Linked DNA regions of Homo sapiens: all the other regions are linked to region 3. The links are contacts of gene promoters, found by promoter capture Hi-C in human tissues and cell types (Jung and others, 2019). All regions are on one chromosome and are shown on one strand. Each heading gives the region's core, a stretch centred on a gene start or on the middle of the fragment in contact. The rest is flanking DNA. Distances are from core to core; before and after follow the strand shown. Region 1 has its middle 97 kb from the start of SS18. Region 2 overlaps TAF4B (TATA-box binding protein associated factor 4b). Region 3 holds the start of TAF4B (TATA-box binding protein associated factor 4b). Region 4 overlaps KCTD1 (potassium channel tetramerization domain containing 1).

The links. Contacts are between HindIII fragments. The study calls those that stand out against the background at their distance.
Region 1: a contact is called between a fragment that was not itself captured here and the fragment with the promoter of TAF4B in region 3, in 3 of the 25 tissues and cell types used here (lymphoblastoid cells, spleen and thymus).
Region 2: a contact is called between a fragment that was not itself captured here and the fragment with the promoter of TAF4B in region 3, in 1 of the 25 tissues and cell types used here (spleen).
Region 4: a contact is called between a fragment that was not itself captured here and the fragment with the promoter of TAF4B in region 3, in 1 of the 25 tissues and cell types used here (dorsolateral prefrontal cortex).

Annotation. Positions count from the first base shown.
Region 1 is chr18:25,991,945-25,994,745 of GRCh38, forward strand. No RefSeq gene overlaps it. Among named protein-coding and RNA genes, the nearest start is that of SS18, 97 kb to the right of the region's middle. The HindIII fragment of the contact is 6,784 bases long and covers 1-2,801 here.
Region 2 is chr18:26,367,743-26,370,499 of GRCh38, forward strand. The region is part of intron 14 of TAF4B (TATA-box binding protein associated factor 4b); the gene reads left to right. Among named protein-coding and RNA genes, the nearest start is that of LINC01543, 54 kb to the right of the region's middle. The HindIII fragment of the contact is 3,920 bases long and covers 1-2,757 here.
Region 3 is chr18:26,225,131-26,227,960 of GRCh38, forward strand. TAF4B (TATA-box binding protein associated factor 4b) reads left to right here and starts at 1,315. Exons shown (of 15, transcript NM_005640.3): 1 at 1,315-2,146. The coding sequence starts at 1,804. RefSeq lists enhancers at 945-1,014, 1,045-1,144 and a silencer at 1,795-1,954. The HindIII fragment of the contact is 12,633 bases long and covers 1-2,830 here.
Region 4 is chr18:26,464,679-26,467,378 of GRCh38, forward strand. The region is part of intron 3 of KCTD1 (potassium channel tetramerization domain containing 1); the gene reads right to left. Among named protein-coding and RNA genes, the nearest start is that of LINC01543, 43 kb to the left of the region's middle. The HindIII fragment of the contact is 4,660 bases long and covers 1-2,700 here.

The DNA.
Region 1 (2,801 bases), core at 225-2,724, 230 kb before region 3:
ACTGCACTCCAGCCTAGGCAACAGGACAAGACTCTATATCAAAAAAAAAAAAAAAAAAAAAAAAGAACTGCATGACTTATCTTTCTCTGCAGAAACAAATTGAGTATTAAAACTGCTCCATAGATTTGTTTACATTTTGTTTTAATCATCACTGCTGTTGATCACAAATCAGTAAGCAAATCCTTAAATCTGTGAACATATCAATAGAATCTGAATAAATCGAGCTAGTTTAATGGCTAATATGAATACACTGGATTTTCTTTTAATGATTCAATTTGTTATCTGCCAATTGACCCCAAAGTTCTGGTCCAGGTATAGACAACATGTAGACAAGGAGAGCTCAAAGTTGGAACTCACCCCTTGGTTCATGCACACATGGTATTACGTAGAGCCACTGCCTCCACTTTCGCAACAGGTTTTTCAGAAACCACTACCCTGAGAAATAGTAGTAGTAACTATTTATTAGTGAAGTTTCATCATACATTGTGCATCTTTCCTTTCCCTTTTCTTCAGCAATATTGCAGAGGAAGAGTAAGCTTAACATAATATACATGATCATAACCCAGCAGAATGAACTGTAACCAAGGAGAACGGCTTCATCTAGTACAAGAGATGCAAGGGCTCTTTACTTGGACTCAGATGTCCTCAAATGACCACCTTCTCTATCTCTTTAGGTTGCCCTACCTGGAAAATAGGGCTAATTCAACTAACCTAGATAACTCAGACATGATGGGAAAATTAGCTATTTAGGGTTCATTGAGTGCATTCAATATGAAAAGCACGACGTATGTCACAAACACAGGGCTGTGACTTCAGGGGAGACAAGAAACAGCAGGCACAAATGAACTTTTAAAAAACAAAGGCCCTATTCTCATGTAAATACTCCACAATAAAGGCTATGGAAAGAAAGCAGCAGGAAATATAAAATATAAACAGAATATTTTCCATGAGGAGTCAGCAGATTTTATCAAGTTAATAAATTATTACAATACAGCATATAAAATCAAACTCATGCAGAATCAGACCAGAGAATATAATGTGTGGCTGCTGGGATTATCTGGTGGGAAGGATCTCATTGATTTTTATAGAGCACTGGATCTGGGAGATTTTAAAATTAGGCAAGGATGATGACCCAGTTTGGGTGGGAAAAGCTTAGAGAATCCATTCAAGGAAGAATATAGCCCAAGAAGTCTCTGGAGGTAGAGTTATTTTTAACCTTTCAGACCTACATGACATAAGGAGAATTCTGAAAACTGAATGCAAAGAGGAAACATTTTATGAACTTCAGTATCCATTTCTCATCGTCATCACCCTGGCACAGAATTTTAAAAGAGTGGCAAAGTTTATTTACACTTAAATAGAGATTTGAGGAAAATAAAATCAAACTTGCTTTCTTGTTTTTACCAGCATATGTGAGAACAAAGTTGGATGAATTTTCTTTTGGGCTCTGATGAGACCAAGAAATCCTTATACAAAATAAAAACCATAGCATTAAATACAAAACATATTAGAAGTGGGTATGTCAAATTTAAAAATCAGTGGTGGCCAGGTACAGTGGCTCATGCCTGTAATCCCAATGCTTTGGGAGGCTGAGGAGGGCAGATCACTTAAGGTCAGGAGTTCAAGGCTAGCCTGGCCAACATTGCGAAACCCTGTCGCAACTTAAAATACAAAAATTAGCCCGGCCACCACACATGCCTGTAATCCCAGCTACTCAAGGGGCTGAGGCAGGAGAATTGCTTGAACCTGGGAGGCGGAGGTCGCAGTGAGCCGAGATTGCACCACTGCACTCCAGCCTGGGTGACACAGTGAGACTGTCTCAAAAAAATAAAATAAGAAAAATCAGTGGAAAATTTGTAGGAACACTGAGAACTACAAAAAAAATTGTGTATTAGTTAGCTATTGCCAAAAACAATGCTGCATAACAAGCAAAACACTGGTTTTGTGCCACCAAAACCAGTGGCACACAAGAAGCACTTGTTTTCATGGTTCTATGAATCAGACAGGTGATTTTGCTTCACAAAGACTGTGTCTGCTCTATGTGTCTTTCATCCTCCTTGGACTAGTGGGCTAGCCAGGCATGCTCACATCATGGGTCTAGGCTCAAAACTAGAATTTTCACCCAATTCTGTTAGCCAAAGAAAGGACTATGGACAAGCCCAAAGTCATGAGCATGGAAGTATACTCCATCCATGTCGTGAGGATCCAACAAGGGTAAAGAACTGAGAATTCAATCAACCACATTTTGTTTCAAAGTTACATATCAGTACAGCTCTGAAAAAATGGTCCAGTCAGAGATCGAAATGGACCTGAATACAGAGACACACACTTTTAACAAACTATTCGTTGTAATGATGATGTTTCCAATTTCCTTTTCATCTAAGTGTGTATTTTCCCTTGTGCATATAATAATTCTAATGGCTGACACTAACTTATTTTGTTATAACTGCTTAAAAAATCTACAGCAGCCAGGCACAGTGGCTCATGCCTGTAATTCCAGCACTTTGGGTGGCCAAGGTGGACAGATCAACTTGAGGTAGGGAGTTCGAGACCAGTCTGGTCAACACGATGAAACCCCATCTCTACTAAAACTACAAAATGTTAGCCGGGCATGGTGGCATGCATCTGTAGTTCCAGCTACTAGAGAGGCTGAGGCAGGAGAATCGTTTGAACCCAGGAGGCAAAGGTTGCAGTGAGCCAAGATCACACCACTGCACTTCTGCCTGGGTAACAGAGCAAGGTTCCATCAAAAAAACCAAACCAAACCAAAACAAAAAAACAACTAAGGCATTTTTCTTTTT
Region 2 (2,757 bases), core at 223-2,722, 140 kb after region 3:
TTTCACTTGTTTGTTATAAATAATGAGCATCCTGTTTTATCTTCATGTAATCATTTGTTTTACAGGATTGATTTCTAGAAGTGGAACTTTTGGGTCCATGGACATGCACAAAATTTAATAGACACTCATAATGCTTACCAAAAGCATTCCAAAAGTTTCCACTGCTGATTGAGTGCCTATTTTTCCATTTTCTTGCTAGCAGTAGATATGATCAATCACTTAAAAATGTTTGTCACTGCAATTTTTTATTTATTGCATCTCTACCGTTCCTTTGTGCTCTCTTCAAAGGTCAAAGTTCTGTTTTTACATGGAAATATGGTGTAGAAGTGTTGAACAACCTCTAAAATACCCTATGTGAGAAATACTTAGATTATAAAACATTTATTTAAGTATTAAAATCATTTAGGGATAGTTTTTTTTATAACTTAGAAATGTGTACATTTTCAAATAGAGAACCAGGTTGAATTCTTATGGATATTTAAATGATCTTAAGTAGGTGTCATTTTCTTTACCATATTTGCTAGTTTTCATCATTTGAGGATAGGGTTAGATTATAATTGAAATACTAAGCCTGAAATTATTTTGGAAAACCCAAAGGCTTAAAACCTTTTGGGGACAAACAGTATTTCTTAAAGATAATTGTCTGTTTCTGGTTGCTGTTACAGGTGATTCTTCACTCTGAAAAGGTGCATAAGTAATTTAACTAAAAGTCTATTCACATGAAAGGCCCAGATTTAATTTGCATTTCCTTAAGGGGCACAGATAGCAGTCCCTCTTTACCTCCATTCTCTTCTACCAGGCTACAGGGGACCACAGTTTTCTAAAGGGTTCCTTATTTGTTTATTATAGCTGACTTATTAGATGTTTAAACAGATTTATTGTCATCTAACTCTTTTTATAAATGTATAGATTCAGTAGAATTTAGAACATGCCGTTACCTTAGACAAAGCAGCTCCTTATATTTTAAGATTTTTTTTTTTTTACATTCTGTTTTGTTCACACTTCATGAACAAATCTGCCTTGCTATTCATAAATGACCTAGACATAAATCTGAATTTTTAGTTTGGTCTTTAAAATTTTCCAAAGACTTAAAGGTTGACTCTTTGTCAGCTATCTTTATGGACTTACTATGAAATATGTTAAGTTGCATATTATTGGCTTATCATTTTTTCACAAGTCCCACATAGAGAGGCTGAAAACATATATTAACAAGAACAAAGAAGAAAGGAGAAAAATGGTAGTAAGGGTATTCAGTAGAATTTGAGAGTTGATTCAAACTAGTGACTAGAGGCATTCTTTCTGAGAAAAATAACTAGCCTAAGAGAGGAAAGAGGAAGCTTGAAATACTAATAGTCAGGTGCATTACTTTTAAATAACAACAGATTGGCAAGGATCGCCAGATATTTGAGGAAAAACCTTTATGTGAAAGATAAAAGGGAGAATATGGAAGAAAAACAAGGCATGAAGCAGAAGGAAACTAAAAAAAAGGGAAAAGAAAGGAAATGGAATATTTTGCAACCGTTACACTAGACTAGAAGGGTATTTGAAAGAAAAGCAGTTGGGGAAAATGAAATACCCCTTTGGAAATGTAAGGTATACTGAAAGAAATAAGCAATGATAAAAGAGTTAGAAGTTAAGACTCAGGACTGCTCCAAGAAAGTTACCTGTTTTTAAGACAAAGATGGTGTGCTGGACTTGTATTGTGTCAAACCAGCTAAGCTGGAACTGTTTCCCAGATTTCTTTTTTCTTTTGCATCCTTAGCAAGGGCCATGAAGCATTTTGACTTTGAAAGGTAAGTGTGAAACTGCAGCCATATTCTTTTGCTTAGAAGATCAGGGTGAGGACAACAGATGCTGTTGCAGCTCAAAGGCGTTGCTGGCATGGGCTGGCACAGGCATTGCCCAGCAGCTGGGCTCCTTAGCTCCTCTTCTCTTTTGGCTCCTCTGAACCGTGGGCCAGACCTAGCACCAGATGCAGAGTTACAGCTGAACATGAACTGTTTAACTAGGTTAACAATTACACATGGCCAAATCTCTGGTAATGCCATATTTTGTATCATTTATAGTCTTCTCTGGTCAAATGCTAACTAATACAGGGCTTTATACCATTGGTAGCTGCAGAGGAGTAGCACCTTAAAAGATGGGTTCCTGAATTAGTTCTGGGTTTTCCAGAATTGGTTCTCTGGTCTAATCAGATCTAACAGCAATGATGATCCTGTCTCTAGTGGTAAAAGGGACACTGGTGGTCCGTGGCATACAGTGGCAAAACTTGTAGACAGTAGAAATTAAGTGCCCTTAGAAGGCAAGTTTTTGGGAGAACAAGTATTTATTACCACAGAACATTTTAGTGACAATAATAATGAGATAGATTGGTTCCTTCAAAGTACACTGGAGAACTTAAGAAAAGGGCTGTAAATTCTGAACTCAGAGTCCACATAAGGGAGTGAAATCATCTGTGATTGCCCTAAAAGAAATCCTTATGTCTTGTAGCCAAAGGCAGAGATTTCTGGACACCACACCCAAAGTCTGTTTCCTGCAGGTGGCTGAATTACAGCGCAGATTGAACTTCCAATCTTGTAAGATCTCTTGGGTTAAAGTGTACAACATTTATTGGGAAAGAGTGGAAAATTAAAAATTGCATGAGAGATATTAGCAGATTCCAATGAAACTGGGTATCTTGAACTCCTCAGTTCTATTTCTATTGAACCACCCTTGCCAGTCCTTCTACCCCTGTCTGTCTGAAGGAGGTTAATCTCC
Region 3 (2,830 bases), core at 65-2,564:
TTTATGAGGTATCATGTTACATTTGTATGTGTCGTGAAATAATTAAATCAAGTTAACATATTCATCACTTTAACATGATTTGTCCTGAATGGAATCCCATTCATGAGGGCTCCACCCTTATGATCTAATCACCTTTCAAAGGCCCAACCTTCTAATATTATCAACTCCAGCTTTAGCATTTTAACACTCAGTTGGGGGTATAATCCTAGCACTTTGGGAGGCCCAGGCGGGAGCTCAGGAATTGGAGACCAGCCTGGACAATATAACGAGATCCCGTTTTTGCTAGGCATAGTGCCGCTCCCCTGTGGTTCCAGCTACTCGGGAATCTGAGGTAGGAGGGTAGGATGATCACTTGAGCCCAGGAGGTGGAGGCTGCAATGAGCCAATGGTGCCACTGCACTCCAGCCTGGGTGACAGAGTTAGATCCTGTTTCCAAAACAAAACAAAACAAAACAAAACAAAACAAAACACCACAACATTCAGATCATAGCATCTGCCTACTTGTAAAATCGCCTTTCAGTGCAGTGTTGGTTCCTACAAACATACAATATAATGACTTTAGCTTGAAATTAAGGCATCTTCTCTGACTGCATTACAAACAGGCAAGTTTTTTCATATCGATTCACTCAACACCTTTTATTTATCCAGATAATATCTAGGATCACGCTTAATATCTAAGTGCTAGAATCTAATTATATAGATATCAAAAGGCATTAAGTTTTTCAGAAGACAGACATACAATTTTAATGTTTAGAGGTGATAGAGACACCTATAGCAGCACCAAAGAAGAAACGATTTTCCATTTAAGATTTTAGGCAGTTTAACTCTAAAATATGAAAATAGGCACATCTCACAGACTATAAAACTATACGCCATTTTAATTTTTACAATGTCAATTCTAACTGCGAATTTTAGCAACGCTTCAGTGTGAAGACAGCAGAGAAAAACACTGAAAATGCGTGATTGAATTCTTATTGAGTCACTCTTCTCGGAAATCAGTCCTCCCCATTTTCTCCTTAAAAAATAGAATCCTGGAGATAGTCTAGTGCTGGCTTTTCGAGGAACACACTACAGGGGACACAAGGAGAGGAACACGGATGCCGCAGTTTTCCAAGTGCAGCTTGCCCCTCCCACGTGATAGGTTTCTGGCATCGCCCCTCCTTGCTGGCGATTCTGGGGAAGATTTTAACGCTCCCTGGAGCCGTCCCCAGTGACGTCACGGGCGCGGCTCCGCTCCTTGGCCAATCACGCGGCCGGATCCCGGGGAAACCCGGGGCGGTGGCGGCGGCCTGGGCGCGTGCGCGAGGTCTCCGCGTGGCTATATAAACATGGCTGGCGTGGCCGCGCGGCGGGGCCGTGCCAATCGCGCGTAGGGGGCTGTGGGCACTCGGGGTTCGTAGTTTTGAAATTTCTGGCGGGGGAGCAGCTGCGCAGTTAGGCTCGAGGTGTGAGCGACGACCTTCCGGGAGCCGCAAGTCCAGGCTCCCCCGCAGCGGGACCCGAGCCTGAGGCGCAGGGCTGAGGCAGCGCACGTGTGAGCGCCGCTGAGGAAGCTGCGAGAGGTCGGGCGGGTGTCGCTCCGGGGGCAGCCCAGGCTCGCGCGGACGAGAGGAAGGTCCGGGACGCGCGTGTCCTGCCGTGCAGCGGGCGCCCGTCACTGACTTCGCTGCTGCGGCCCCCGCGCCTCTCCCCAGCGATGCTGTGGAACCCGAACCGCACCGGAGTCGGCTGCCGCGCGCCAAGCCTCCCCTCACCTCTGCTCCCGGAACCGCAGCGCCAAAGCTGCCGCTGAGCCCCTGGGGGATGCCCGCCGGCCTCACCGAACCCGCCGGCGCCGCTCCCCCGGCTGCTGTGAGCGCCTCGGGGACCGTGACCATGGCCCCGGCCGGGGCGCTGCCGGTGCGGGTGGAGAGCACTCCGGTGGCCCTGGGCGCCGTGACTAAGGCTCCTGTCAGCGTCTGCGTGGAGCCCACGGCGTCCCAGCCCCTGCGGTCCCCCGTGGGGACCCTGGTGACCAAAGTGGCTCCGGTCAGCGCCCCTCCTAAAGTCAGCAGCGGCCCTAGGCTGCCTGCTCCTCAGATAGTCGCCGTGAAAGCCCCCAACACCACGACAATCCAGTTTCCTGCTAATTTGCAGCTTCCTCCAGGTATGTTGATAACCCTTTCCAGCCTTGTCTGTCGGTCCAGCTGGCGGCGACGGGAAAATTCGCAGCTCCAGATTGCTCCTAAAAAAACTGAGCCACGGGAACATTTCATAATCTTGACTTTACAGTTAACATATTCTTTTTGTGTCATTACTACATAGTTTTTCTTTTCATATTTAAGGAAAGAATCTTTTCACCTAAGTGATACAGTAAAAAGCTACATCAGCGTATTCGGGGGGGCTTTCAGGCACTGGCTCTTAGGTGGAGGAGATAATATAGCCGAAGTTAATTTCCATGTGGAGGATGGACCGGTTTATACCGTGGATTTCCATACGCTTAGATTATGTAGAAGTGCGTTGTACTTATTTTATTAATTATGAATGAATGAATGAACGAATGAGGTATGGTTTCGCTCTGTCGCCCAGTCTGGAGTGCAGTGACACGATCATGGCTCACCGACGTCGAACTCCTGGGCCCAATCGATCCTCCCGCCTCGGCCTCCCAAAGTGCTGGGATTACAGGCGTGAGCCACCGCGTACGGCCTAACAGTGAAGTTCTTGTGTATTACAACTGAAAGAGATTTTTAAATTTAACCAAGTCAGAATCGGTTTACTGCTTTCTAGTACCAAGTACGAATAATGCTGTTCCTGCACAATCTTTAAATGTCTTATGATTCTAACTTTCAAT
Region 4 (2,700 bases), core at 197-2,696, 240 kb after region 3:
ACCGTGAGCACAAAAAGGATTTTTCTCTGAGGAATGTCTCCAATACCTCCCAGGAGCTCTAGCTCTCCTCACCCCCAGGCTTAGGGGGCAGTGGGATCCTGCTCTTGGGACCCTCGGCAGTGGGTGGTTCCCTAGCAGGCAGGGCACCTATGTATCAGGGGTACCACCAGCAAAGCAGGGGTGCCAAGAAAATGAAAGGATTTTACCTTTTCCATTTCCAAAACAGCAACCAAGTAGTGGTCATCATAACAAAAGACAGATCTCTGTAGCACTTACTTTCCTTTGGTTTTAAAGATTTTGTTTATCTTGTCGGGGATGGAGGTTGGGGGAGTGGCCACTGCAGTTTTTTCAGTGTTTAGGGTACTAAAGCTCTTAATTGCCCTGGCCTTGTAATACTCCTTTGGGCTGGAATAATTTCTTTTTTAATGGAGTTTCTCTCTCCTTGTCCAGGCTGGAGTGCAATGGCATGATCTTAGCTCACTGCAACCTCTGCCTCCCAGGTTCAAGAGATTCTCCTGCCTCAGCCTCCAGAGTAGCTGGGACTACAGGTGCCCGCCACCATGCCCGGCTAATTTTTGTATTTTTAGTGGAGATGGGGTTTCGCCATGTTGGCCAGGCTGGTCTTGAACTCCCGACCTCAGGTGATCTGCTCACCTCAGCCTCCCATAGTGCTGGGATTACAGGTGTCAGCCACCGTGCCCGGCCCATTCTTTCTTTTCTTCAAAGCCTGGAGGGACTGGCCCACGTGCCCCTTTTCTCCTGCCACTACTTGACAGTTCTCACCAGGCAGTCCCCTCCTCATCCAGGGGCACTGACTCCCAGCTTCTCCCGACTACTCTTGTTTTCCTGGGTCAAGGATACCCAGACTAGGATTAGTCTTGATGGCTACTGAAAGAAATGGAAGCAGCAGCAGTGTCCCGTCTACGCCCTGCCACTGTCTCCACTCCCATCTTACAGACAGAAGCACACACAGGTGACCGTGTCAGGGTGCTGACGGCGGGACGGAAGGCAGGCCCACCAGCATTCTGAAACAACACCCTGGCTTGGAAAGTCACGAGGACGCCACACCACAGGAGCTAGGCCTGATGTCTAGGGCGTGCTGAGGGAGGGGGCCAGAGACACCATCGGAGATGGTGCCGGGGTGGGGCTGGCTGCTCTTCCATCCTCCCAGTCCTGCCTCTGGGAAAATATCCTTGGGAGGAGAAAAGAGGTCATGGGCAGTACCAGACAGCGCTAGTCACCAGACCACGGATACAGCCTCGGTGGCGGCAGCTGAGGCCGTGGTCTGGGGCATGTCCTGAGTAGGCACTCCCGCAGGTACCAGTGAAGAAACTCTGGCGAGTGGGGGCCTATCCAGGTCGCCACTCTGCCTTCTCCGAGAAAGACCTACCCGCAGGTACGGGTGAAGAAACTCTGGCGAGTGGGGGCCTATCCAGGTCGCCACTCTGCTTTCTCTGAGAAAGTTCTACCCGCAGGAATGAGGACCTAGAAGCAATGTGTGTGTTGCCACAGCTGATTGGCTAAAGTACAGGCATGGAGCCAAGCTGAGCCAATCAGATGGTGTCTCTGTAGGACCAAGGGAGGGGAACGAGGCCCTGGGCTTGCTGAGACTGGCACATGTTAATGGCACCTCCTGCAATTTAAGTCTTCAGGGCGGTCCTGTTGTTTCCATCCCTGAGAGAAAGCTTCCACTAATTCTATGAGATAAACTAGTAAGCGCTTCCTGTCAATACTCCCTTTAACTTTTCCTTAAGCTGGACAACTGGTTCTCGAGCAGGAGTAATTTTGACACTAGAGGGCATTTAGCAATGTCTGGAGACACTCTTGGTTGTTGCAACCGGGAAGGGGGTGCTACTGGAATTTGATGGGTAGGGAGGGATGCTGCTGAAAACCCTATATTGCACAGGACAGCCCCCACCACAAAGAATTGTTTGGCCCCAAATGTTACTTTGAGCTTGACAGAGATCGTTTTTATTGCAGCCTAAGGAGCATGCAACTCACCTTGATACAATGATCAGTTCATTCCTAGCATCATTAATGGTGGCTCAACCACATGCCTTTGCTACTGTGAGGTAGTATGAAGCAAACAGCATCACTGTGATGTATTCTCCCCAACAAGTCTAACGTAAACCCATCATGTCTTTAGAGATGACTTCCAGTTTACAGGAAATTAAGGGATAGATTCATGAGCTAAACTACACATGACAAGGCAACCACACAAATCGAGATGGCAGGACATTTTGCAGGACAGCTAGCCCAGTCTCCAGCAAGTTGTAAAGGGCATTGTGGAGTCAAGCAGGGAAACTCAAATATAGTTGTGGAATTAGAGGAAATAATTTTTTTTAAATGGAAAGGTAAAGGTTATTGTCCAAAATAAGCACAGGAAAAGATCCAGAAGGCTACTCACTAATGTTTTAACATTGGCAGTCTGAGTGGTGGGAACATACGGTATAGTTTGTTTTTTTTTTTTTGGTTTGTCTATATTTTTAAATTCTCTACAATGTACATGTACTTCTTCTATAATATTAAAATGTTATTAAAAATAAACAATAGAGGTTGGTTGTGGTGGTGGCTCACACCTGTAATCCCAGCACTTTGAGAGGCCAAGGCAGGAGGATTGCTTGAGCCTAGGAGTTTGAGATCAACCTGTGGCGGCTCAGTGAGACCGTCTCTACAAAAAATGAAAAACTAGCTGAGTGT